Linked DNA regions of Homo sapiens: regions 1, 2, 4, 5, 6 and 7 are each linked to region 3. The links are contacts of gene promoters, found by promoter capture Hi-C in blood cells and fetal thymus (Javierre and others, 2016). All regions are on one chromosome and are shown on one strand. Each heading gives the region's core, a stretch centred on a gene start or on the middle of the fragment in contact. The rest is flanking DNA. Distances are from core to core; before and after follow the strand shown.

Region 1 (3,419 bases), core at 910-3,409, 890 kb before region 3:
AGAAGAAACCGGCCAGGTTTGTATTACTTGGTGGAAAACTTGAACTTTGCTTTGGATTTTAAGAACAGAAATAAGGCTGCCATGTGAAGAACACACAGGAGGGGCAGCAGAGAGACTGGCATCTTTCCTGGTGAGGGATCACCAGTGTTGCAATCGCAGAGTCAGGTTAGCTCTTCTTGGTTGGAGTATCTTTAAGGCCATCTGGTCTGACTCTAAATGACTAGGAAATTACTCATCATGTGCCTTCTAACTCTCTGAGTAGTTATTTCCATTTCCTTGATACTGAAAAAAGGGTAGTAGGGAATGTATGTTTGCTGCGGCCAGTGGGGTTATGTCAAATAATGGTTACTTACTGACAGCAGTCTAACAGTTTCTGGGAAGACTAATGTGCTCCTAACTGCATATGTGGGAGAGAAACAAGAACTACCCATTTACTGAATATCCACTCTGTGCAAAGCCCAGTGCCATGGGCATTAACATTCATGGTATCAGCAAGGTGGCAGCAAAGAGTCAATCTTCTGAGAGTTAAGCAGTCCTAATCAACACATTATAGGAAATAACTATGTGCAGAAGTTATCCTGTCTAAGAGATGAGTTACTTATATTTTCCTCCCAGCCTAAAAGGAATAGTTTATAAAAAATAGTTAATACTTGAGGTTGATAGATTTAATACATATCCAATTTGGGTAAAGTGACTATGGTGTATTCTCAGGACAGGAAGGACCCTAAAGGATGCTATAATCTGACTAATTATAATTGTAACAGGCTTCTCTGAAGTAATGTGTAATGGAAAGGTAGTGTCTGCCTAGAGCCTAGAAAAGGCAGCATAGGGCAAAAGGCCTTGACCAGCATTAATTCATAACAACCAATGAAAGAAGGGACTATGTAGCTCATGTGCATTATTGATTTCTAAGTGTCTAAAAACACATCAGAATTTGCTGCAGCTTAGATAAAACATTTACTGAACATGTATTGCCAGAATGTGAGCTTATTGATAATCTCCTTAGTATCAGGAGAGGATATAGCAGTAACGTGTAGATTCTGCCTTCAGACCCCCCTGGATTGGTATCTTGACTTTGCCACTTAGAAGCTGTATTAGTTATCTGTGAAAACAGAACAAATTATTCAAACTTAGTTATTTAAAACAATATTATTTCACAGTTTCTCTAAGTCAGAGATTCAGAAGTGGCATAGTTGGGCAGTTTTGCCTCAGGGGCTATCATGGTTGTTGTCATCTGAAGGCTTGACTGGGGCAGGAGGGGAGCCACTGCCAGGGTGGCTTATCCACATGGCTGACACGTTGGTCTGGTTTTGGTCCTCCCCTTGTGGGCCTCCACACAGGCTGCCTGAGAGTCTTCACCACATGATGCCTGGCTTCCTTGAAAGTGAGAAATCCATGAGAATGCCAGGTAGAAGGAGTAGTGTCTTACATCCTAGCCTAAGAAGCATATGCCCTCACTTCCACCATATGCTTTTTATTAGAATTGAGTCTCTAAGTCTGGTTCAAATCAAGGGAGAAGGAAAATTATACTCCACTTTTTGAAGAGAGGAGTGTCAAAAAATTTGCATGCTACTGTAAACTGTCACACTGCGTGACCTTGAGCAATCTATTTAAAAGCTTTATGCTCCAATTTTTTCACCAGTAAAATAGAAATGACATTAGTATCTGCTTTATAGAGTTGTAAGGATAAAATAAATCAATGTAAAGAGCTTAAAACAGTGCAGGGTGTATGGTAAGTGCTTTCAGTAAGATTAGCAATGATGCTGATTACTAATTCTATTCTAAGTCTGTTTGACCTGTGATAGAGCTAATCCAGAGACAAGAACAAAAGATGCTGGCATCAGTCACGTGTGTCTCTTAAATCGATCATTCCTATAAGCAACGGTGTTATCTCCACATCATCCTATTGGGCTTTGCAGAACCTGGATACTGTTTTGCCTAGGCTGCAGATCCAGGACAGGCAGCATGCATTCTTCTGTGTCACAAAGCCTTGTTTTTCTTTTCTCATCAGAGGAAGTGGTCTGGAAAAGTGCCAGCCAGGCTATGTGACTTCTCAGGTTCAACATCATGGAGATGAGAAAGACCAAATGGCACCCAGGGTCCTGCTGAAATCAGAGGCATAAATCTCAGCTGCAGGCATGAGGAGCAATTCAGGAACCCTTGAATAGATCCTTTCAGATTCTTAACGTGGCTTCATTGAACGAAGACCTCTCCAGGGTTCTGTCCTAAAGTCACCTCAGAAAGCTGTGTCTCTGACATCACAGGAAGGGGACCCAGGGCCAGAAATCACTTCAGCATCATTCACCTCAATTTCACCTCTGAGAATTGAGGTATCATGAACAAACGTTACAAGAATGCTCAAGAATCTGGCTACCAAATAGTCCATAGAGATATTATCCTAGATTAAATAAAATTAAGAAACATTTATTAGGCACCTACTCTAGGCAAGTCACAGTATTTCTTAAATTGGAAGAAACTTGCTGATGGATGAAGAATGAATAGAATTTTAACCCATGCAGGACTTAAAGAAAATAATTGCTATCTGCTCCAGTCAAAGTCCACAGTGACATTCCAAGAACATGTGTCAGGAAATTGACTGAGAAAAGAGTTTTGAATTTTTGACTTACAAATGCATTGAGTTCGAACTAGAAACCAAAATCTACTTTTTTGCCTACTTTTCTCAAGTACAGCCGTCACACCAACAAGCTTGCTTTCAAAAAGGGAAAAGAAGATGTTTGATAGGATCAGAATATCCCAACTCCTGATATCTGACCAAATTAAATTTAAATGTTCAGAACTTTGCTTTTGAATATATAAAGCAACATGATGGCTGGCACCAAGGAAGGCAAGACCACCAGTAGTCTAAATGTTACCCTCAGGCATGCATGCCCTGGCAGCTGACCCTTCCCTGAAAGAAATGTCCCTTCTATTCAAAGACAATGTCTGGGGTGAAGTAATTTATTAATTTATTAATACAAGAAGTAAAAAATACTATTTTTGGCCTAATATCCATAATAATATGGAAGAAATGACAAAAGAAACCCCATGGGTTCTCAACGTATTACACTTTCAGCCAACTTAATAGAAGACTTGGCTTTAGGATAAATGCTTGTATGTTTTATAAACACTCCTATTATTTAGGGAGGTCTGAGGGCATCTGGACATAGAATATTATTTTCAAGTTATAGCACATAATTTTTCAGGCAAAACTTACCCTTCAGAATGGAATATGAGCCATTTAATTTCCCCTTGTGTTTAGTCATATGAAAAAATGCCACACAAGGACCCGGGCAGAGAAACAAAGATAAGAGCTAGTCTTTTCCTTGCACAAAAATCTGCACGAGGAAAGGCGATGGCTCTCGTTACTGTGCACAGATGCGTGGCTGTGAACTGCATAGCTTTCTTTTCTTCTTGGAAAA
Region 2 (3,246 bases), core at 685-3,184, 960 kb before region 3:
ATCTGAAATGCTTTAATATTTAAAAAAATAAAAGTGTGTAAAATAAGTTGTAATTTGAAATTATTTCAAACATGTTAGTTTGCAGTCCTAAATTTATCTTGGACAATTTTATTGACTTAAAAACTTAAATTCCACATATTGTCAATTACTAGAATGTATGTATTTAGAGCAAAAGGAATGTATATATTTATATATATGTATATACACACACACTTCTTTTATATATATACTCCTTTATATATATATATACTCCTTTATATATATATATACTCCTTTATATATATATATATATATATATTTAAATATATATAGAGAGAGAATGAGGAAATTAGTTTAAAAATATGAGAACTTTGTGTTTGGTTGGCTAGTCTTTATTTTTTGAAAGCAAATGGGCGAAGGGCCTTCTAAGAAGCTACACAACAGAAAATTATAGGACCTTAAATGGAAGATAGCTGAAAGAATAAAACTAAAGTTGGTAGTGGGATGAAGTTGTAGGAACAGCTTTTGGAATTTTTATGGTGCAACCTTTTTATTTTTCTCTAGTAAAAGTCAGAGCACCTAAACTACAGAAGGGATAAAAAGTAAATAGTCACAAGAACAATGAGGACTTTTGTGTATAGCTCTACACATTTAAAAAAAGAGAGGTTCTAATATATGGAATATGAAGTTTTCAATAGCTTAAATGCTTTTTTTAAAAAAATTATTGATTGATTAATTGATTGGGTCAGAGTCTGTCTCTGTCGTCCAGGCTGGAGTTCAGTGGTGTGATCTCGGCTCACTGCAACCTCCTCCTCCTGGGTTCAAGCGATTCTCCTGCCTCAGCCTCCCGAGTAGCTGGGGTTACAGGCATCCGCCACCATCTCCAACTAATTTTTGTATTTTTAGTAGAGACAGGGTTTCACCATGTTGGCCAGACTGGCCTTGATTTCCTGGTCTCAAGCAATCCACCCACCTCAGCCTCCCAAAGTGCTGATATTACAGGCATGAGCCACCATGCCTGGCCTTTAAATGCTTTTAAATGTGAAATTTTTCTGTATACTTCAACTTTGTCACTTAGAAAATATTCAAATTTTGAAATAAGTATTTAATAATAATGACTTGATGTTTAGTATGTACAATAATATAAAGAAGAAGAAGAACAAATGAGCTCACTTTTTTTTTTTTTTGAGACAGAGTCTCGCTCTGTCACCAGGCTGGAGTGTAATGCACAATCTCTCTGCTCACTGCAGCTTCTGCCTCCCGGGTTCAAGTGATTCTCCTGCCTCAGCCTCCTGAGTAGCTGGGACTACAGGCATGCACCACCACACCCAGCTAATTTTTGTATTTTTAGTAGAGACGGGGTTTCACCATGTTGGCCAGGATGGTCTCTATCTCTTGACCTCATGATCCGCCCGCCTCAGCCTTCCAAAGTGCTGGGATTACAGGCATGAGCCACTGCACCCAGCCAAGCTTTATTTTTAACTGCAGATATAGTACCCAAGTCTAAAGTATACAGTTAGTTGAATGTTTGTATTTGCATATGCTCATTAGCTATCACCCAGATAAGATATAAAACATTTCTAGCCCTTCAGAAGGCATCCTCTTTCCCCTTCCCAGTCAATATCTAACCCCGGTGTAAACTGCTGTCTGACTACTGTCTCTTGTTTTGCCTGCTATTAACTTCATGTAAATAGATTCATACAGTGTATACTTTTTTGGCCCTGACTTAACATATCTGTAAGATTCATATATTTTGCATGTTCAGTAGTTCATTTTTTAATTGTTGTGTAGTAATTTCATTATATATATTCACCACAATTTACTCATTCTGTTACTGATGGACATTTGGGATGTTTCTAGTTCTTGGATATTGTAAATAAAGCTATTATTAATAGTCTTATACATGTGTTGGTGGACATAAGTTTTTATTTCTCTTGTATGTATGCCCAGAAATGGAATATCTGGATTATAAGATTGATTAGCTTTACTAGATATTGCTAAGTATTTTTCCAAAGTAATTGTCCTAGATCACTTCACCAGAAATGTGGGAGTTTCAGTTGTTCCACATTCTCTCCAGTACGTGATGTTGTTAGTCTTTTTAATTTTAGGCATTGTAGAAAGTGTGTGGTGGTATTTCATTTGCTTGTAGTTTGCATTTTTCTCAAGATTAATGGTGATGAACAATTTTTCATGTTTATTGGCTGCTGGATGTACTTTCTTTTGAAGTTGTCTTTTAAAGACTGTTGCAGAGAGTCCTTACTGGGTTGTTACCTTTTTCTTATTGACTTATAAGAGTTTTCAAACATGTGTTTGGATACAAGTCCTTTATGGAATAATAAGCATCACAGATATTTTCTATCACTTTTTGAACTGTCTTTTCACTCTCTTAGTCATGTATTAGATTAACAGAAATTCTCAATTTTTAATTCAGTCTTGTATAACAAGCTTTTATTTCATGATTAGTTCCTTTTGTGTCCTGTTTAAGAAATCTTTGGCTATCTCAAGGTCATGAGGACATTCTTCTGTATTTTTCTCTAAGAAGCTTGATTATTTTAGCTTCCACATTTAGGCCTTCAATCCATCTCAAATTTTTGAGTATGGTATGAAGGTAGGGGTCAAGTTTAATTTGTGTGTGTGTGTGTTGTTTAAATTACTTTATTTTCCTTGCTTTCAATTTTTCTTGCCTTTGGCCTTGATCCGTGTCGTAATGTCTGGTAAAATATAACAATACCTAATACCATGTTCTCATAGTAGGTCTTCAACAGATGTTTGATAGATTGAAAAACTAGAAGAGCCTTAGAAGCTAATCTTCTCAGTCATCTTTGTCCTTAGCTACATATGTATTTCTTAGGTTACCTGAGACTTTTATGTTTTTTTCCAGTTAAGTTGATATTTAATAATTGGTTGTCTTAGTACCAGTAGTGTAGTTGCAGGTGGTTTTTGTGCTGCGATGCAGGTATAGCCTTTCTTAAATTAAAGATTCAGTCTGAGTTTGTTGGGGATACTTATCTCGGGTGAGCAATTGATGGGGCTCCGCATTAGAAAGGCAATATATGGCTCAAGGAGAAATCCTGGGCTTTGGAGTCTGATAGAGCTGTACTCAAATTCTAACTTTTCCAATCATTATGACTTTCAGTAAGTTGTCACTATGTAATTGAGTTTTTACTAAATGTAAAACAAAGAATTACGGCACAGTCAACGTAGATTAACCTGCCCTAGGTCACATAGTCACTAAGGGTGAATATATATCCAGGTCTGCCTAATTGC
Region 3 (3,483 bases), core at 941-3,440:
CCCACGCTAAGTCTCTCCTGGCCACGCTCTGAAAGGCAAAAATGGCAAAAATCCTCCTTCAAGGCACCGCTCCCTCGACGCGCACCGCCACTCCGACTCCCTCAAAACATTGGTCGCAAAGCCCCCCCGCCTGGTCCTCCATGCTCAAGAATAGGGTGGCAAGGCAGGAAAAGACTCACACATCCCAGCCCCCGGCCCCTCAGGGCAGCCTCTGTGTTTCTAACTAAAAGCCTCCTACCAGGGGCAAGACCAAGTTCGGGCGCTTCCCCGCATGGAGAAACGCTGGCCCCACGGCGCCCGGCCCCGACGCGCTGGCCCTTTAAAGGCGCGGGCTTCCTGCGCCCGGGGCCCCTCCCACGCCACCGCCACCGCCACCGCCACCGCCCGCGCCCGCCCCCGCCGAGGGTCACACTTGAACTTTAGCTCGCCCCGCGCGGCCAGGCGCCGGCGCTCCGCAGGCGGTGGCCGCCCCTTCGCACGTGTCGGAGGCACCACCTCGGGCTCGGGACGCCGGGCCCCCGGCACTCGAGGCCACTCCGGAGAAAACCAAAACAAAGCAAAATGCGCACCGCCTCCAGAAACTGCCCGGCAGGCCCTGCACCGTCCCCGGCCGGTCGCGCCCTGCCTGTCCCCTCCACCTGCAGCCCGGTCCCGGGGCAGCGAGGCTCCGGGGCCCCTCGCCGCGCCCTCCCCCGCCGCGCCCGGCGGAAACAGCTCCGCGGCGCGGCCGGAGAGAACCCGCCCTCCCCCCGCGGAGGTCCGGGAGGGAAGGGGCAGCCGAAGCAGTCGGCGCGGGCCGGGGGTTGCCGCTCCCAGCGAACCCCTTTCTCCTTTCACTGGCAAACTTTTCGGCCTCGCTCTGACGTCCACTTCTTGGCGCACTTTCTTTACTTAGTTCCCCAACGAGCCCCTTACCGCGTCCCACGCGAACTCCTGACTGGCGCGCACGCACACCTACTGCCGTCCCCGACCGGACCCGGGCGAGGCCACCGCGACCACCGCTTCTCGCCCGCCCTCCTGGGAACGCGCTGCCCTCCTGCTCCGCACCTTCAGGCCGAGCAAACCTGCACAGCTGCGCCCTCGCCTGACCCACCGCGCCCCCAAGGTCCGGCCGCGCGCCGAGTCCACTCACCTTCCAGCCCGCCGAGCTGTTGCTGTCACCCTTATCCTTGAAGTAGGGCACGCTCTTGACCATCCACTCGTAGATCTGCGACAGCGTGAGCCGCTTCTCCGCCGAGCTCTCGATGGCCTTGGTGATGAGGTCGGCGTAGGACAGGTTGCCCCACGCGTTGCGGCGGGACGAGCTGCTCTTGCGCGGCTGCCCCGCGAGCGGCCCAGCGGCGGCGGGGGGCACCGGCGGGTGCTGCGACAGCGGCCCGGGCGGCGGGGGCTGCGGTGGCGCTGGGTGCAGGCAGCCCGCCTCCGGGCCCTGGAAGTCCCCGCACAGCCCCCCGGTGGCGGCCGCGGCGGCCGCCGCCGCCACCGCCGCCGCCACGGAGCCGGGCGCCTGCGGGAAGTCCTCGCTCTCCTCCAGCAAGCTCAGGTTGCTCATGAAGTCGGCGCTGACAGCGGCAGCCGAGGCCGAGGGCAGGCCCGCCGCGGCGTCGGGGTTGGCAGCCGCGCTGCCCGACGGCGCCGGGCTGGAGGTGGCCGAGTTGGACTGGCTAAACTCCGGCCTGGGCAGCGGCCAGGTGCACGAGCGCGGCCGGGGCAGCGGCTCGAAGTCCGGGTCGATCTCCACCACCTGAGGCGCCTCGGCCATGGTGACCCCCGCCCCTCCCCCAGCCGCAGGAGAGCCAAGAGGGGGAGAACGCAGCACTGGGGGCGGACGGGGAGGGGGCGCGAAGGGACGGTCCGAGATTTGGGGGAACGAAGCCGGTGCGGCGAGCGGACGGAAACTGGGAGGAAGGCGCGGCGGAGTGGAAGCGCGAGCCCAGAACTTAACTTCGCGGGGCCATCCACATCGAGGCTCCTCGGGGTCCGCCGCACGGACTGGACGGCCGGCCAGAGCCGCCGGGCCGGGGCAGAGCCTGCGCCGCGCTCCAGCTGACAGGGCCGCGGACGGAAGGACGGACGGACGCCGCGGGCCGCTTGCTCTCCCCAGCGGCGCGCCCGCTGCGCTGCTGCCTGTTGAATGTGGCGGCTGCGGCAGCGGCTGCTGCGACTACCAGGCCGCCCGACTTACGGGATCTGCCGCCGCCCCCCGCCCGCGGCGGCGCGCGCGCCGGCCCGCCCCTGACCGACAGCCCGCGCGGCCAATGGGCATGCGGCACCGCCGCCCGGGCAGCCAGTGGGCGCCGGGCTGGGTGGGGCCCGGTTTTCCACGGGGAGGCGGCGGTGGGCTGGTGGGGGGTAGTGGGGTGTTTTTCTCTTTCACACACTCACCTCCTTTTTTTTTTTTTGGATCTCTATTATTTTCTGGTAATTCTCGAGTGTTTCTGTGATTCTCTCGCCTTCTCAGTGTTTTGATTGCTAGGAAGCAAACCAGCGTGGAGGCGCCGGCGACACTTTGTTTACTACGGAGCAGCAGAGCCGAGTACTCGGGAAGCCCGGGTGGGAGGAGGCGCTCGCTGCTCCCTGACCTCCGCTGCGGGCCGAGCCCGGCGGGCTGGCAGGGCAGGGGGCCGAGGGCCGGGGGCGCGGGGTGGGCGGGCGGAGGCGGCCGCGAGGAATTCTACTCAATCGCTCCCTCCTGGCTCCACCCACGATGTCTTTGCTGAACGACGTGGGGAATCGGTGGGTTTTGTTTTGGTTTAATGTTTTCTTTCGCTGCGATCTGTCAAGTCCTCCGGCCCCCTCGCGAGCGGCACACGCCCCCCACCCCCGGCGCCGCGGCTCCTGCAGTCGAGTCCGCGCCGAGGGACCCTTCTCCGTGCCCACCGGTCCGCACCCCCGGGCTCAGCCTGTGCCATTCGGTCTAGCCAGAGGCGCGTCACCCAGCCGGCAGCCCCCAGCCGGATTCACTGTATTCTTGACCTTTTTTAAAATGCTAGAAATGAGGAACAGGGGCTCCGGCGCGGGGAGGAGATTATCTGGCCTCCCTGAACACACGAATCCAAAGGCACCCGCGACCGCATGCCCTCCGTGGGAACCTCTTCCCCTGGGCGGGAATCTCCCGCTCCGTCCACTAAGTCCAGGGCCGGCAGCGAAGGGCTCAGGAGCGCAGTTAGAGAGAACCAGGTCATTTTATTACTTATCCCTAATTAAATTTAGCTGTTTGTTACTTCTTTTTTATTTGCAACGGAAGTGATCGGGTGTTAAGTAAAAACGCAAGGGGGGCGGGAGATAGGACCAAAGCCTTGGGGCGCAGCCTGCCCCACCCCCAAATTCCTTGAGGCTACTTGCTGTGTGTGTCAGTCAACCCCCCACCCACACCCCACCTTTCCTCATCTGGGCTGCAGGTCCAGGACATCCTGTCAAGGATCAGTGGGGCCAAAGGTGGGAAGATAATGGCCCTTGTGTCTCAAGCAGAAGAAACAGTTT
Region 4 (3,748 bases), core at 51-2,550, 870 kb before region 3:
TCTTAAGTGATGCCTTAGTGGCTCTGGTAAGTAAATAAACATTTAGAAATTATGAAAATTATACCTGCACTTACAGTAGGGCCTGAAATCATTGAAATCTTGCTGCTCATAGTGTAGTCTACCTGGCAGAAGCATCGGCCTACCTGGGGAGCCTGTTAGAAACACAGAATCTTGAGACGATCCCAGATTTTCTGAATCAAAACCTGCATTTTAACAAGAGCTGCATGTGCTTTATGTGCCCATCGTAATCTAACAAGCACTGACTTAAGAGAATTAGCCTTATCAATTTTATTTGTTATTTATTGCCCTACATCATTTTTATCACCTTAATGGAATACGAATCTTCTTGCTTGTTTTTACCCTTCCCACTTTGAGCGCTATCCTATTGTTTAATTTATCCATGTACAGAAGTTTATGATAAATATTAACATTTCAATTTACAGATGGAAAAACTGACAAAAAGCTGGAGAGGTGTGACTATCCCAAAGTCTGGTCAAATGCCAAACTGGGAAGAAAATACAGAGACATTAACTCATGCACTGATGCATCTTGCATTAAAAGATAGGAGATGAGTCCCAAACACACAACATGAAAACTCACCATCATGCAGGCAGGACCTCAGAATTTTTGAATTATAAGAGGCTTAAGGACATTTTCGAACATGAAATAGAGCCACTGGATGATAGCAGATATGAAGGCTTTCTCCTCTGTACTCACACAGGGCTCTGTGTTTTGGCCTACTGCAGCACCGATCATTTGGTATTAAATTACTGGTTTATATGTCAGTTGCCCAAGACAGACTCTGATTCTTAAGATCAATGACTGTGTCTTACTTTTATTTCACATTCAGCATTTACCCCAATACTGGGCACATAGAAAGTGCTCAGTAAATACTTCTTAATTTGCTCAGGCTGCCATAACAAAATACCATGGATTAGGCGGCTTAAACAACAGAAATTTACTTTCTCACATTCCTGGAGGCTAGAAATCTCAGCCCAAGGTACCAGCATGGCTCTGTTGCTGGCTTGTAGATGGCCACCTTATTGCCATGTCCTTACATGGCAGGTGAGGTGGTGGCCTTGGAGAGAGAGCAAGCTCTCATATTTCTTCTTAGAAGGGCATTAATTCCATCATGAAAGCCCCACCCTCATGATATTATCTAAACCTAATTGTCTCCCAAAAGTCCCATCTTCAAATACCATCACATTGGGAATTCAACATATGAATTTAGGAGAATATAAACATTCAGTTCATAACAAATACATATTCAACAAATGAAGAAAAGTAGTTAAAAAGAGAGTAGATTTCAATCAAACTAATAAAATGTAATTGGGAAACTATACAACTTTCTGGAAAGATTGTTGTTAAGCTAATCTATCACTTTGGTTTGAGCTCAAATAAGCTGGAGAGGTTCACCTGAATGTAGCCTCTTGGAGGTTTGTTTCCTTCTTGATTCCAATATTTAAATTTCAAAAATCAATGGTTTACCAAAATGGTTTTCCTAAGTGGTTTATTATATTTAGTAAACAGCCATGCTTTATTTGGGGTATAACTTATCCCAAGTATTTTTACTTTTACTTAGGAAATCTTTTTTTTGGAAATGGAGGTACATGGAAAACAGCAGAAGTAGTAATGAAAAGAGTATAGAAGAAAGAAATAATATGTAAGGTTTTTGTTTGTTTGTGGGATTTTTGTGTTTTTTTTCCTGAAACAGAGTCTCACTCTGTGACCCAGACTGGAGTGCAGTGGCGTAATCTCGGCTTCCTGCAACCTCCGCCTCCCAGGCTCAAGTAATCCTCCCACCTCAGCCTCCCTAGAGGCTGGAAACACAGGCATGTGCCACCACGCCCAACTAATTTATTTTATTTTATTATTATTATAGTTTAAGTTTTAGGGTACATGTGCACAACGTGCAGGTTTGTTACATATGTATACATGTGCCATGTTGGTGTGCTGCACCCATTAACTTGTCATTTAGCATTAGGTATATCTCCTAATGCTATCCCTCCCCACTCCCCCCACCCCACAACAGTCCCCGGTGTGTGATGTTCCCCTTCCTGTGTCCATGTGCTCTCATTGTTCAATTCCCACCTATGAGTGAGAACATGCAGTGTTTGTTTTTTTGTCCTTGCGATAGTTTGCTGAGAATGATGGTTTCCAGCTTCATCCATGTCCCTACAAAGGACATGAACTCATCATTTTTTATGGCTGCATAGTATTCCATGGTGTATATTTGCCACATTTGCTTAATCCAGTCTATCATTGCTGGACATTTGGGTTGGTTCCAAGTCTTTGCTATTGTGAACAGTGCCACAATAAACATACGTGTGCATGTGTCTTTATAGCAGCATGATTTATAATTAAACTAAAGAGCTTCTGCACAGCAAAAGAAACTACCATCAGAGTGAACAGGCAACCTACAGAATGGGAAAAAATTTTTGCAACCTACTCATCTGACAAAGGGCTAATATCCAGAATCTACAATGAACTCAAACAAATTTACAAGAAAAAAACAAACTCATCAAAAAGTGGGCGAAGGATATGAACAGACATTTCTCAAAAGAAGACATTTATGCAGCCAAAAAACATGAAAAAATGCTCATCATCACTGGCCTTCAGAGAAATGCAAATCAAAACCACGGTGAGATACCATCTCACACCAGTTAGAATGGCGATCATTAAAAAGTCAGGAAACAACAGGTGCTGGAGAGGATGTGGAGAAATAGGAACACTTTTACACTGTTGGTGGGACTGTAAACTAGTTCAGCCATTGTGGAAGTCAGTGTGGCGATTCCTCAGGGATCTGGAACATAAATCATCCAACTAACTTCTTAAATTTTTTTTTTTTTTTTTTTTGAGATGGAGTTTTGCTCTTGTTTCCCAGGCTGGAGTGCAATGGTGTGATCTCGGCTCACTGCAACCTCCACTTCCTAGGTTCAAGTGATTCTCCTGCCTCAGCCTCCCAAGTAGCTGGGATTACAGGCACCTGCCACCATGCAGGGCTAATTTTTTGTATTTTTAGTAGAGAGAGGGTTTCATCATGTTGGCCAGGCTGGTCTTGAACTCTTGGCCTCAAGCAATCCACCCGCCTCGGCCTCCCAAACTGCTGCGATTACAGGCATGAGCCACCACGCCTGGCCCTAATTTTTTAATTTTTTCAGTGGAGATAGGGTTTCACCATGTTGCCCAGGATGGTCTTGAACTGCTGTCAAGTTATTCCCCCACCCCGCCTTGGCCTCCCAAAGTGCTAGGATTACAGGCATGAGCCACTGGGCCCAACGGAAGTACATGTTTTATATTACCTCTGCTTTTCACACTTTTAGAGTTCATCAATAGCTCCTAAATTGTACTCACATTTTTTCTGCTTATTCATATTCCATTTCAACACTTATGAAATAAACTATTGTTATGAGGGTTAGCTAACATTTCATAAATTTTCCCCAAATGTTCCTTTTGGTTCTTTTCATAAATTTATTCTTTATTATTTTTCTTTTATCTATGCATTGCTTTTTTATACAACTACCCAAATATTTTATTTTCTTTGCTAATTATAGGGGCTAAAACAAACTTGTTAAGTTAGATTGAATTGAATGAAATAGATATACACATACTAATACAGTATTTTTTTCCTCACAAAACCAGTTGAATTAACTGGGCTGTCTTCGGGTTCTAGTTGATTCTTTCTTGACAGAGGAATTAAATGGAATGAAGCCACACATATAACTGTACCTTCTCATGTGCTATTCAC
Region 5 (3,473 bases), core at 658-3,157, 1.0 Mb before region 3:
AATCCCAGCACTTTGGGAGGCCGAGGTGGGCGGATCACGAGGTCAGGAGATCGAGACCATCCTGGCTAATGCGGTGAAACCCCATCTCTATTAAAAATACAAAAAATTAGCCGGGCGTGGTGGCGGGCACCTGTAGTCCCAGCTACTCAGGAGGCTGAGGCAGGAGAATGGCATGAACCAGGGAGGCAGAGCTTGCAGTGAGCTGAGAACGCGCCACTGCACTCCAGCCTGGGCGACAGAGCGAGACTCCGTCTCAAAAAAAAAAAAAAAGAAAAGAAAAGAAACAATACAGAGATCCAAGGTAGCCTTTACCTTGTTTCTGCCAAAGGTAACATTTTACAGAACTATAGTATGGTACCACAACTAGGATAATGACCTTGATACTATCTACCTGTCTTATTCAGATTTTGCAGTTTTACTCGTTGGTGTATTTATTTTTATACATTTTATCATTTGTAGATTCCTGAATGCGCCACCATAGTCACGATATAGTACACAGTTCCATCACCACAAATAGTGTCCTGTTGGTGGGTGGACAGTGTGAGAAAAGTTGCAGACTAAGCCCATGTGGGAGATGGTTGACTCTGCAAAGCAGCCAGCTCTGTGAGGAAAGGCAGTGTTAAATTTCTTTATCAGAATTAAGCCTGTGCCTTCACCATAAAATTAGATTGCATTTTATAACAGTTCTTTTGAAAGAAAAGTTTCCTAGAAAAACACATTCCCTGTTAGAGACCTTGACATTAATTTTTCTCTAAGTTAATGCTGAACACAAAAACAAGCATTACTTTAATTGAAAATTGTGATTAAAACTAAGAGGATAACAGATCAATAATCCTGTATGCAAAGCCTTTTTAAACTTTTCCTGTTCTCAGTTAAATCTTTTTGTTTTAATTTTTAGTGTAATAGGTATTACAGTTGTTTGCAACTAATCGTTGATTTGATTGTCTCTGTTTCTCCTAAACTGTGAGCTCCTTGAGAAAAATGACAATTTCTTATTCTCCTTTTTGTATTTGCAGTGCCTGCTATTTTACAGATTCAATAAATAATTTTTGAGTAAATGAATATGGAAAGCAACTATAATGTTAGGAAAGGAACATAAAACTGAAAAATAAGCATTGTATTGGAGCTTGTAATATGGGGCTCTAAATAATGTATATAGGAGACAATATTAGAACATTGTGCTTCTGTTCATGTGTTCTCAAAACTATTTAAGCAAGGTTTATGTTTATTATTTTAGTAAGCCTGTGGAAGTGTTTTGGCCTGATATGCTTTTGGGAAGTGAAAATTTATGACATTCTGGTATCCCAAGAGCTATAGATATGATGTGCCAAGTGAACGTTTGTGTGAATGTATTTTAGGAAAATTGCAAGGCAGAAATTATGATAACAGGTCTCTGGGGGCTGGCAGGGAGTTGTTTTTTCATTTTAAAATATCTTTTTAACAAGAAACTTTGTTAAACAAGCAGTTAGCTTTAGAAATAGAAATCTGTTTCTATATGGGATTATTTGAATAATACGATACTTTTATTCAGACAAATGTATGAATGATATGAATATTTTTCCAACTGAGTGAGAAGGAAGTCAGTCGTCAGGACAGCTGAGATGCTCTAATAGATAAAGCTTAATGTAGAATTTTATTCACAGGACTGCAGGTTAGCATTTCCCCTTAATAGTTCATTGGTAGTCAGACGATGGGCTTCACTGATAATCAGGAAAGACTATATGTACATGAACATACCTTTGTATTTTTAAAATACTACTAAAATCACTATTATATTTTTATTATCTCTTATAAAGGCCCACCAGCCAGAATTCTCTCTGGACTCAGAAAAATAATCTCTGGAGAATGTTTATGTGTGTGTATTTTTTTAAGTTCAGTATGTTAAAATGGAAAGAATATAGGACTTAAGACAAAAATCTGAATCTTAATCGAAACCTTGGGTAAGAGATTATTAGATTTTTGATTTTGTACAGTTATTTCTTAACCTCCCTTAACCTAAGTTTCTATGTCTGAAAGAAGGAAGGGGAAAATATCTATGTCATGGGGTTTTTGAGATAACTAAATTATTTACGTAAGTTGCTGAAGACACTGCATGGCATACATTAAAGACTGTTGCCCCTCCCTAGTCCTCCCCTTTTATTAGACAAAGAAATCTATGTCACTCATCTTATTTCTATTTTTGCTCTGTCATCTAGGAAGCTTAGAGCTATTTTGTGCTTAATTGCAATAGCTTTCCTCAGATGTATGATTTACTTTCTCAGCCTTTCCCTTTATTTCTTACTATTTTAGTTTTTAATAGTTTTAATTTATTTTTATTGCATTGTAAACTACTTTAACTCAGGTTTTGAAATTGGTAGCATAAAAATATAAAACTTTATCTTGCATAAATGGTTTTATATTGCATGTAAAAGTATATTACAGAAGCGTATGTGGCACATTTTCTTTCATTACCTAATAAAAGGTTAGGGGAAAACAGGGGAGCATCACATCTCCTTTCTTCTTTCTTCTTGTCTCATTTGTACATAGTAGCAGCTATCCAAAAGGAAATATTGCCAGTGACATGCAGGAGCCTGACTGAGATAAGCTATAACAACTTTATTTCAGTCACACATATTGGACTGGAAATAAAAATTTGGGGGTAAGGCACAGTATGGCTTATCCATTTCTTGTGATTATGATCATGCTGTAAGGGAAATAGTATGAGGAAAAATTTAGAAATAATCTTTGGTTTAAGTATTTTAAAAGTTGGGTTTGGAGATGGTATGGATTTTTTTAAATGAAAATTTTGTCTGATCAAATTTTCCCCACCAATGAAAAAGAGCTTTTTTTTGCGTAACATTTTTTCCCCACCAATACAAAAGAGCTTTTTTTTTTCTTCCTTTTTTTTTGTGGGCACGCTTCATTTAAAGTGGCTATTGCTGTTTATTTCCTGATTTAACTACATTTATCAACCAGGTAGACTTTTTCTATATTCTTATTCATTCTACCTGGAATTCCATTTCCCAAAATTAATTTGTTGAAAACTCATTTGTCATTTTAGGTTCCCTGTTGTTTATGCCCATCATATATTTCAAAATATTTTACAAAACTTAAGAATTTTAGGCTATCATGTATGTGTATGTTTGTGTCACACATGCATGTACATGTTCCTTGAGAATGTATATATGTATGTACCTATATATGTTTCAAAGAAAGTCTTGCTTACTTTAAAAAATACTTCAGCTTATAGGAAATTTATTTCACCTTTGTACTTTACAGTTTTATTATATATTTTCCATGTTCAGCCAGGAACCTTTACTCAGTCACCAGAAAAAAAAATAATTAGTTCCTTCTTTGTACTCCCACAACACATTATTCTTCTAGCACTTATTTTCTGCCCTATGATTTCTCAACAGTGCTGGACGTTATGGTCTTTGACTATTTTAACTGGATAGCAAAGGCAGTGTATTAATGCTCTTTGTACCCACTCCTTT
Region 6 (3,717 bases), core at 898-3,397, 900 kb before region 3:
AATCTTTCCTAATTTAGTTAAATATGCTGTTTAGAATAATAAATAGGCCTACATATGGTTACTTTGGGGCTATAATTATATTAAGCACAATTACCTATCATCTTGAATTTGCATACTTACTTCACCTCTGAGAGAATGTGCTTTGGAAGATAGATAATATAATTATGTATTTTTGCAGGTCCAAATATGAAATTTCTATAAACTAGCTGAGAAATGAATGTAATAGTAATAATTAGATTAATAACAGCATATTAGTCTATCAAATCCAACTACCCTTAATGCCAGTGAATGTTAAAAGTAAAACTTTCTTAGCACTGACAATTTAATAAGTAAAAATAAATGGTACTAAGCTTACAAAAATTAGCTGAATTGGGGAAATTGTTGATAAGGCCACAAGTATTAACATGTTATACTTGCTTGCTTTGAGGGTATATAGCATCTTTTGGCAAAGTGTTACATTATTGTGAATTTAACAGTGAAAGTTTAAGCCAGTCTAGGATTTCAAAGTTTATAACTTTACTACCAGGAAATTAATTTACTTAAATATGTTCTTTGTTTCCATCAATGTCAACATCTGAAATTCCACTGGAGAAGTATTAGCTTTGGCCTACTAAAAGCAAAATGACAAGAAGCAAGAATGCAAGCCAGCATCAAAAATTGGTCTCCTGTTTTGAGATTGCCCCGAGTCTTTCTGGGGGTATCATTTATATAAGTCTAATTTTCGGGATTCAGGCAAGAGCTGGCCATTGTTGTGCTAGCTGGGCCTCCAGTGGAATGTAAAATGATAATGAAGATTGAACTGAGGTAGAAAAATGAATTTACCTTAGAAAGGACACCAAAGATTTGATTAGTATTCCACATAGTTGCCATACGTATTTAATTGCAGACTAGGAATTTTTCTTGCTTTAAACTATTAGATTCTTTTACAGACAAAGATATAAGCAAGCCAAGCATTAAAAAGCCAAAAAGGTGCTGCTAAAAAAGAAAATAAACCACAAAAACAGAAAGAACATCTCAATGTACCCTGCCTTTATTCTAAATCTTACAAAAAAGAAAATAATTTCTCCACTGAACTATTAATAGGTTAATATAATGAATCATACAATAACAAACCATAATAGAATTTGCATTAACCAAAAAATGTGCAAACACACTACTATGATTTACCAAAAGACTCTCTGCAAGTGGTAAATCATTAGCTCTAGTGTTGCTCTTTGTAACCTCAGGTCTTTGGGGAATGGTGCAGAATTAGTATTGCTTCCTTCTTTCTGTGTGTGATAATGGTGGGGGAAGGCTAGTACCATCTCTGTCATACATCAAATTCCCATATGTGAATAAATTTATGTATTTTTACTGCACTCTTTTTATAGGTTTATTCATTCCTGCACCAACAACGAATGCCATTATTATAACTTTATAGAAAGTCTCAATATATGGCACAGTGCTTCATTTTCTTTTTTTCATCTAGAGTGCCTTAGCCATTCTTGGCTTTCTGCTGTTCCACAAATAGCAATGTAAATTTGTCAGTATAATAGAGAATCCACTTATATTTCTTCAACAGCTATTGGGAATATGGTTGGGATTACTTCAACTCTATGTATCAATTTGAGGAGAATTGATATCTTTATAAGATTAATCCAAATCACAGCATGTCAAAATTTCCTTATTAGGGTAGTTTTAATGTCCTTCAAAAACACTGTAATTTTCTTCATATAGATCTAAGAAAACTTTGGTGTTTATTCCTAAGAAATTTATAGTTCTTGTTTTGTAAATGATATCTATTCTTAAGTTACACTTAAACTTATTTGTTGCTGTATATAGAAATGGAATTGACTTCTATGTACAGCAGTTGCAAACTGATATTCATATGCAGAAAGTGAAACTAGACCCCTAATGGATAAAAGACTTAAATGTAAGACCTGAAAGTATGAAACTACTAGAAGAAAACATATGGGAAACACTTCAGTACCCTGGCCTGGGTGAAGATTTTATGGAGAAAACCTCAAAAGCATAGGCAACAAAAGCAAAAATGGACAAATAGGATTATATCAAACTAAAAAGATTCAGCACAGTAAAAGAAATAATCAATAGAGTGAAGAGACAACCTTCAGAAGATATTTGCAAACTATTCATCTGACAAGGGATTAATATTTAGAACATACAAGGACCTCAAACAACTGAGCAACAACAACAAAAATATCCAATTTTAAAAATGGGCGAAAGAGCCAAATAAACATCTCTGAAAACCAGACGCAAGTGGCCAACAGGTATATGAAAAAAAAAAAAATGCTGAACACCGCTAATCATCAGGGAAATGCAAACCAATACCACAATGAGATATTATCTCATTTTGGCTATTATCAAAAAGAGAAAAAATAACAAATGTTGACAAGAATGCACAGAAATGGGAATGCATATGCTGTTGTAAATTAGTCCAGCCACTATGGAAAACAGTATAGAGATTCCTCTAAAAACTAAAAATAGAACTACCATATGATCCAGCAATCTCACTACTGGGTATATATCTAAAGGGAATTATGGATATGTTGAAGAGACATTTTATTTTTACTCCAATGTTTATTGCAGCACTATTCACAATAGCCAAGATATGGAATCAACTTGTGTCCTTTAACAGATGAGTAGATAAAGAAAATGTGGCATATATACGCAGTGGAATACTATTTAGCCATAAAAAATAACAAAATTATCTCATTTGTGCCAACATGGATAACTTGGAGGACATTGTATATTTAGTGAAATAAGCCAGGCACAGAAATATAAATACTGCATGTTCTCACTCAGGTGAAAGATAAAAACATTGATCTCATAGAAGTAGAAAGTAGAATAATTGATACTAGAGGCAGGGACATGTAAGGAGATGGGAGTGGGGATAGTCAGAGGTTGGTTAATGGATACAAAAGTACAGCTAAATAGTAGAAATAAGTTCTAGTGTTCTATAGCACTGTAGGGTGACTGTAATTAACAACAATCTATTGTATATTTTCAAGTAGCTAGAAGATTTTGAATGTGTCTTACAGAAATGATAAACATTTGAGGTGATGGACATGCTGATTACCCTGTTAGATCATTACACATGGATACATGTATCAAAATATCACACTGTACCCCATAAATAAGTACAATTAAAAAATAAGTGGAATTGATTTTATATGTTGATTATAATAGATCGAGGCACCTTCATAATATTATTTTCCGTGATTTTTCTTTGAGTTTTCTCTATATAGATCTATTTGAGACAAAATAAGAGTTTTTTTTTTTTTTTTCTTTGAAGCCTATGTACCCTTTATTTCTTTTTCTTTTCTTTTATGCTGGCTAGAACCTCCAGCAGAATGTTAACTAATAGCAATGATAATGGTTACTTTTCTTAATTCAGATTTCAGTATCTCACCATAAAGAATTATACTTGCTCTAAGTTTTCAGCAGATAATCTTTATCAGAGAGGAAGTTATTTTGTATTCTCACATGCTGTTATTAATTATGAATGGACGTTGAATTTTAAGTGACTTTCAGAATCTATTGAGATGATCACTTGGCTTTTCTCCTTTATTTGTTAATGTGATGAATTATATTTATAATTTTCCTGGCATTAAATCACTCTTGCATTCCCAAAATAAGCCTAAGTTGATCATATTATTTTCCCTTTCTGTATAAATCACTGGATTTAGTTTTGTATGTTTTTGTATATTTAGTAGCAAC
Region 7 (3,676 bases), core at 1,177-3,676, 980 kb before region 3:
AGGAGGGATGTATCTGAGGGCTACATGGCAATCTGGGAAAAAGCTTGAAAGATAAAGAATGGAACTATAATAGGCAAAGAAGGTTTATCTGTGAAGGGCATATGCTAAGAAGCAGGGGGCAGTAATGGCAATTTGGAAGATTTTTTTTTTTTTTTTTTTTTTTTTGAGACGGAGTCTAGCTGTCGCCCAGGCTGGAGTGCAGTGACGCAATCTCGGCTCACTGCAGGCTCCGCCCCCTGGGGTTCACGCCATTCTCCTGCCTCAGCCTCCCGAGTAGCTGGGACTACAGGCGCCCGCCACCTCGCCCGGCTAATTTTTTGTATTTTTTAGTAGAGACGGGGTTTCACCGTGTTAGCCAGGATGGTCTCGATCTCCTGACCTCGTGATCCACCCGCCTCGGCCTCCCAAAGTGCTGGGATTACAGGCGTGAGCCACCGCGCCTGGCCAATTTGGAAGATTTTAAGACACATTTAGAAGTTGAGTAGGAAAGTAAGTTTTTAAGACCAGATGATTAGAACAAGATGAATGCTAAAAAAGAGAAAATTGGCCTTTCATTAAGTAATTATTTTCAAAGTGGTAGTTTCCTTACATTTAGGGAAAACTTAATAATGTATCATGTTAACCACCAGATGGCACTATATGAACTTAATAAGTAATGTATAAAAGTTTCACTGTCCATTATTGTGTCTCAAATAATGTAAGTATTATATACAAGAAAAATGTCAATTATTGAAATCCGTGGGGAAAGTTGCCATACTCAGTGTTTCTTATGTGGTGTATAACTGGAATGCTAATGCATTATTGACTTTTAATAATAAATCATGTACAATTATAAATGAAGTGAAAAAATTTGATAATTTATTTTCTTTGGTAAGCCTTTAGAATATAAGTTATTTTAAAATGTAGTAATACATACAATGCTGATTTTTCTTCCTTCTTTATGTATTTGTTGTGTTTCAAAGAGGCACTTCTTTACTATTATCTTTTAATTTGCTTTTTGATAAAAATTTTTCTTCTTTTAATTTGCTTTTTGACCAGAATTTCTTTAACTGTAGCTAAACACAATTTTTAAAATGAGACTTTTAATTTTAACTTGAGGTATTTGAGAATATTTACATAATTTGAACATTCACTCTGAAAAAGCTCCATTTTGATTTTTGATTATTGTTGGAAGAATGTCTGATTTTGGTCAAAGACTTTTTCTTCTGTCTCTGGGAAGGATGTTTCATGTCTAAAGATATTGAAGGTTCACGTGGCTTATGCTGTTTTTGCTTTAAATTATATTTGTTCTATAGGAGGATTGACATTAATATTAATGTTTATTGATATTTTATAGTATTGAACAGATGAAATTCCAGTGTTTGCCAGGCTTGGTAATTTACCCCCTATTTAAAATACACTGGATTTTAAGATTCACTGGATTCTGTTACAGCTGTCGTCCCAGTGGACAGTCCTAGAAACAAATTATGCTGTTTATTTTTAATATAGTTAGTAGGGTCTTGGGAATGAGGATTAGCTATATATACTTAAAAAGTTAAACGTTTGTGAATTTTATGCTGTGATAAGCAGTCATAAGTTCATTATTTCAGAGAATCAGGTGATCATTTAAAAGAAGGCATTCTTCACACTAAATGGATTAATAATTTAAGAGCATGAGGGAAAAAATAGCAATGAGCATTTTGGTTCTAATTTGTTTAAAAAATAGTAAATGCAAGGCAATTATGCAATTTAGCAAAACTTAGCTGGATATTGCACTTCCCCTTTTCTGTAGTATGTCACCACAGGGAATCTCAAAACCATTTCTTTTTAATGGAAGACAAACCCACAAAGAACCATAGTCTGGTTAATAGTAAACAGTCCTCAAAAAAGGTTCATATTCCTAAATATTTATAGCTATTTGCCAGTTCTACAGACTTTCTCTTTGATTTGGAAATAAACCGTCTTTCACATGTTTACCAAAATGTGGATTTTTCATCCAATTAACAGCATATGAAAGAAAGCTATGTAGCCTAAGATATTAATTATTTTGGGTATCTTGGGAAGTTTTGGTAATTTTTGTTTATATATAGGTTATTGACATAATTCTTAAAATTTAGTATGGTAGAATACTGTTTAGAGATTTAAAAGTTAGTCTAGAATCTGCTGACATCAAGACTGCTAAAATATATTTTGTTTTTCTTTATACTTTTAAAATGGAAAGAACTTTCAATTGAGGGATGGATGTCAGGAATGGTGGTGATAATGGAAAACAAGGCTGAGTCAAGTCAAAGAAATGGGCACTCCAGAGAGCTCCAGGCCATTTTTATAAATTGAATCCCAAATTGTCCTATTCCCCAGTTAAAAGCTTTCCTTCCCTACCAGTTCCTTCACCTTAGAAAGCCTTTCCATGCCTTTTCAATTATAATAGGTGACTTCTTAATACATGTTTTTTAAAAAGGTATTTGCTTGTATATGTGTTTGGTCAGTAAATTTAAGGAACATCTGTTATGTCTAATATTGGAGTCAAAATAAGCTTTTAAAGATGGATAGCAATTTTTGGAGCAAATTTTGGTGATAGATTGTGATAGTATGTGTAAAGAAGACTTTTTTAATGTAGAAGAGAAAAATGTCAATTTTGGGATTGCAGAATTCTTTTATTTTTTCTGAGACAGGGTCTTGCTCTGTGGCTCAGGCTGGAGTATAGTGGAGCAGTCACTGCTAACTGCAGCCTGAACCTCACGGGCTCAAGTGATCCCCCTACCTCAGCCTTCCGAGTAGCTGGGACTATAGGCATGCACCACCATGCCTGGCTATTTTTTTTTTTTAATAATGAGAAAGGGTTTCATTATTTTGCCCAGGCTGGTCTCAAACTCCTGGGCTCCAGTGACCACCTTCCTCGGCCTCCTAAAGTGCTAGGATTGCAGGTGTGAACCACCGCACCCAGCCTTGGATTTGCAGAGTTCTAATTATAATCAGTTTTTGAGAACTGTTATGGCTTTACGTAAAACAGTAGAGCATCATGTTTTAGACTGCAAATATGTATACTGAAATATACCGAAACCTAGTATAGTGAATATACTGAAACCTAAAAAGTTAAGTCTTCCCACCTTGGCTTGATTTTCCTACTTTTACTAAGTCCATTGCTTTATCCCTTATTACTGCTGCCTCTGCTTTAGTCCCAAATCCCAGCATTGTTTCTTAGGAGGGGTAAAAGTTTTTACTTTTTGATTGAATTTTCAATGAGCTGAAGTTATCTCTTAAATATTTTTTTCTTGTTTGAAAGCAATGTTGCTTGACCGAATATCTAAAGGAGCTTTAAGTGCTTTTTAAGTACTTGGTTGTCTCAGAAATTGCGTGAATAGTCTGATATAGCCACTAGAAACAACCCCAACCATTTTTTATATAACTTGTTTCTTCTAGATATACCTTAGATGAATTTGGAACAGCCAGAAGAAGTACAGTTGTTCGTGGATTTATTGATGCGCTCACAAGAGGGGGCCCCGGAGGTACACCTAGACCAATTGAAATGCATTCTCATGACCCTTTGAGGTATAGTAATCAGACAGCAGAAGAGGAGTTGATGTTTTTCCAAAGGAAATCTTCATTAACATTTAGTTTTCATTAGGTATGTAGGAGATATGTTGGCTTGGCTCCATCAAGCTACTGCTTCTGAAAAGGAACACCTTGAAGCTCTCTT

What was found. Contacts are between HindIII fragments. The CHiCAGO score rates a contact against its expected background, and 5 or more counts as called.
Region 1: a fragment that was not itself captured here is called in contact with the fragment with the promoter of FOXO1 in region 3 in 8 of 17 cell types (naive CD4 T cells, endothelial precursors, total CD4 T cells and 5 more); the score reaches 14.7 in naive CD4 T cells.
Region 2: a contact is called between a fragment that was not itself captured here and the fragment with the promoter of FOXO1 in region 3, in 6 of 17 cell types (M1 macrophages, erythroblasts, total CD4 T cells and 3 more). The highest score is 7.9, in M1 macrophages.
Region 4: a fragment that was not itself captured here is called in contact with the fragment with the promoter of FOXO1 in region 3 in 2 of 17 cell types (naive CD4 T cells and M1 macrophages); the score reaches 5.9 in naive CD4 T cells.
Region 5: a contact is called between a fragment that was not itself captured here and the fragment with the promoter of FOXO1 in region 3, in 1 of 17 cell types (fetal thymus). The highest score is 7.3, in fetal thymus.
Region 6: a fragment that was not itself captured here is called in contact with the fragment with the promoter of FOXO1 in region 3 in 1 of 17 cell types (total CD4 T cells); the score reaches 5.3 in total CD4 T cells.
Region 7: a fragment that was not itself captured here is called in contact with the fragment with the promoter of FOXO1 in region 3 in 17 of 17 cell types (naive CD8 T cells, fetal thymus, total CD8 T cells and 14 more); the score reaches 25.3 in naive CD8 T cells.

What each region holds. Positions count from the first base shown.
Region 1 is chr13:39,777,504-39,780,922 of GRCh38, forward strand. It overlaps a transcript of COG6 not described here. Among named protein-coding and RNA genes, the nearest start is that of MIR4305, 120 kb to the left of the region's middle. The HindIII fragment of the contact is 1,089 bases long and covers 1,616-2,704 here.
Region 2 is chr13:39,705,981-39,709,226 of GRCh38, forward strand. All of the region lies in intron 13 of COG6 (component of oligomeric golgi complex 6), which reads left to right. Among named protein-coding and RNA genes, the nearest start is that of MIR4305, 43 kb to the left of the region's middle. The HindIII fragment of the contact is 975 bases long and covers 1,448-2,422 here.
Region 3 is chr13:40,664,451-40,667,933 of GRCh38, forward strand. It overlaps FOXO1 (forkhead box O1), which reads right to left and starts at 2,191. Exons shown (of 3, transcript NM_002015.4): 1 at 1,133-2,191. The coding sequence starts at 1,762. RefSeq lists silencers at 1-9, 310-819, 1,340-1,389, 1,480-1,619, 1,850-2,379 and an enhancer at 3,030-3,079. The HindIII fragment of the contact is 11,472 bases long and covers 1-3,483 here.
Region 4 is chr13:39,797,017-39,800,764 of GRCh38, forward strand. No RefSeq gene overlaps it. Among named protein-coding and RNA genes, the nearest start is that of MIR4305, 130 kb to the left of the region's middle. The HindIII fragment of the contact is 5,023 bases long and covers 1-3,748 here.
Region 5 is chr13:39,668,533-39,672,005 of GRCh38, forward strand. The region is part of intron 4 of COG6 (component of oligomeric golgi complex 6); the gene reads left to right. Among named protein-coding and RNA genes, the nearest start is that of MIR4305, 6.1 kb to the left of the region's middle. The HindIII fragment of the contact is 580 bases long and covers 1,618-2,197 here.
Region 6 is chr13:39,759,494-39,763,210 of GRCh38, forward strand. It overlaps a transcript of COG6 not described here. Among named protein-coding and RNA genes, the nearest start is that of MIR4305, 97 kb to the left of the region's middle. The HindIII fragment of the contact is 3,599 bases long and covers 349-3,717 here.
Region 7 is chr13:39,684,104-39,687,779 of GRCh38, forward strand. COG6 (component of oligomeric golgi complex 6) reads left to right here. Exons shown (of 19, transcript NM_020751.3): 9 at 3,400-3,528; 10 at 3,605-3,676. Among named protein-coding and RNA genes, the nearest start is that of MIR4305, 22 kb to the left of the region's middle. The HindIII fragment of the contact is 168 bases long and covers 2,343-2,510 here.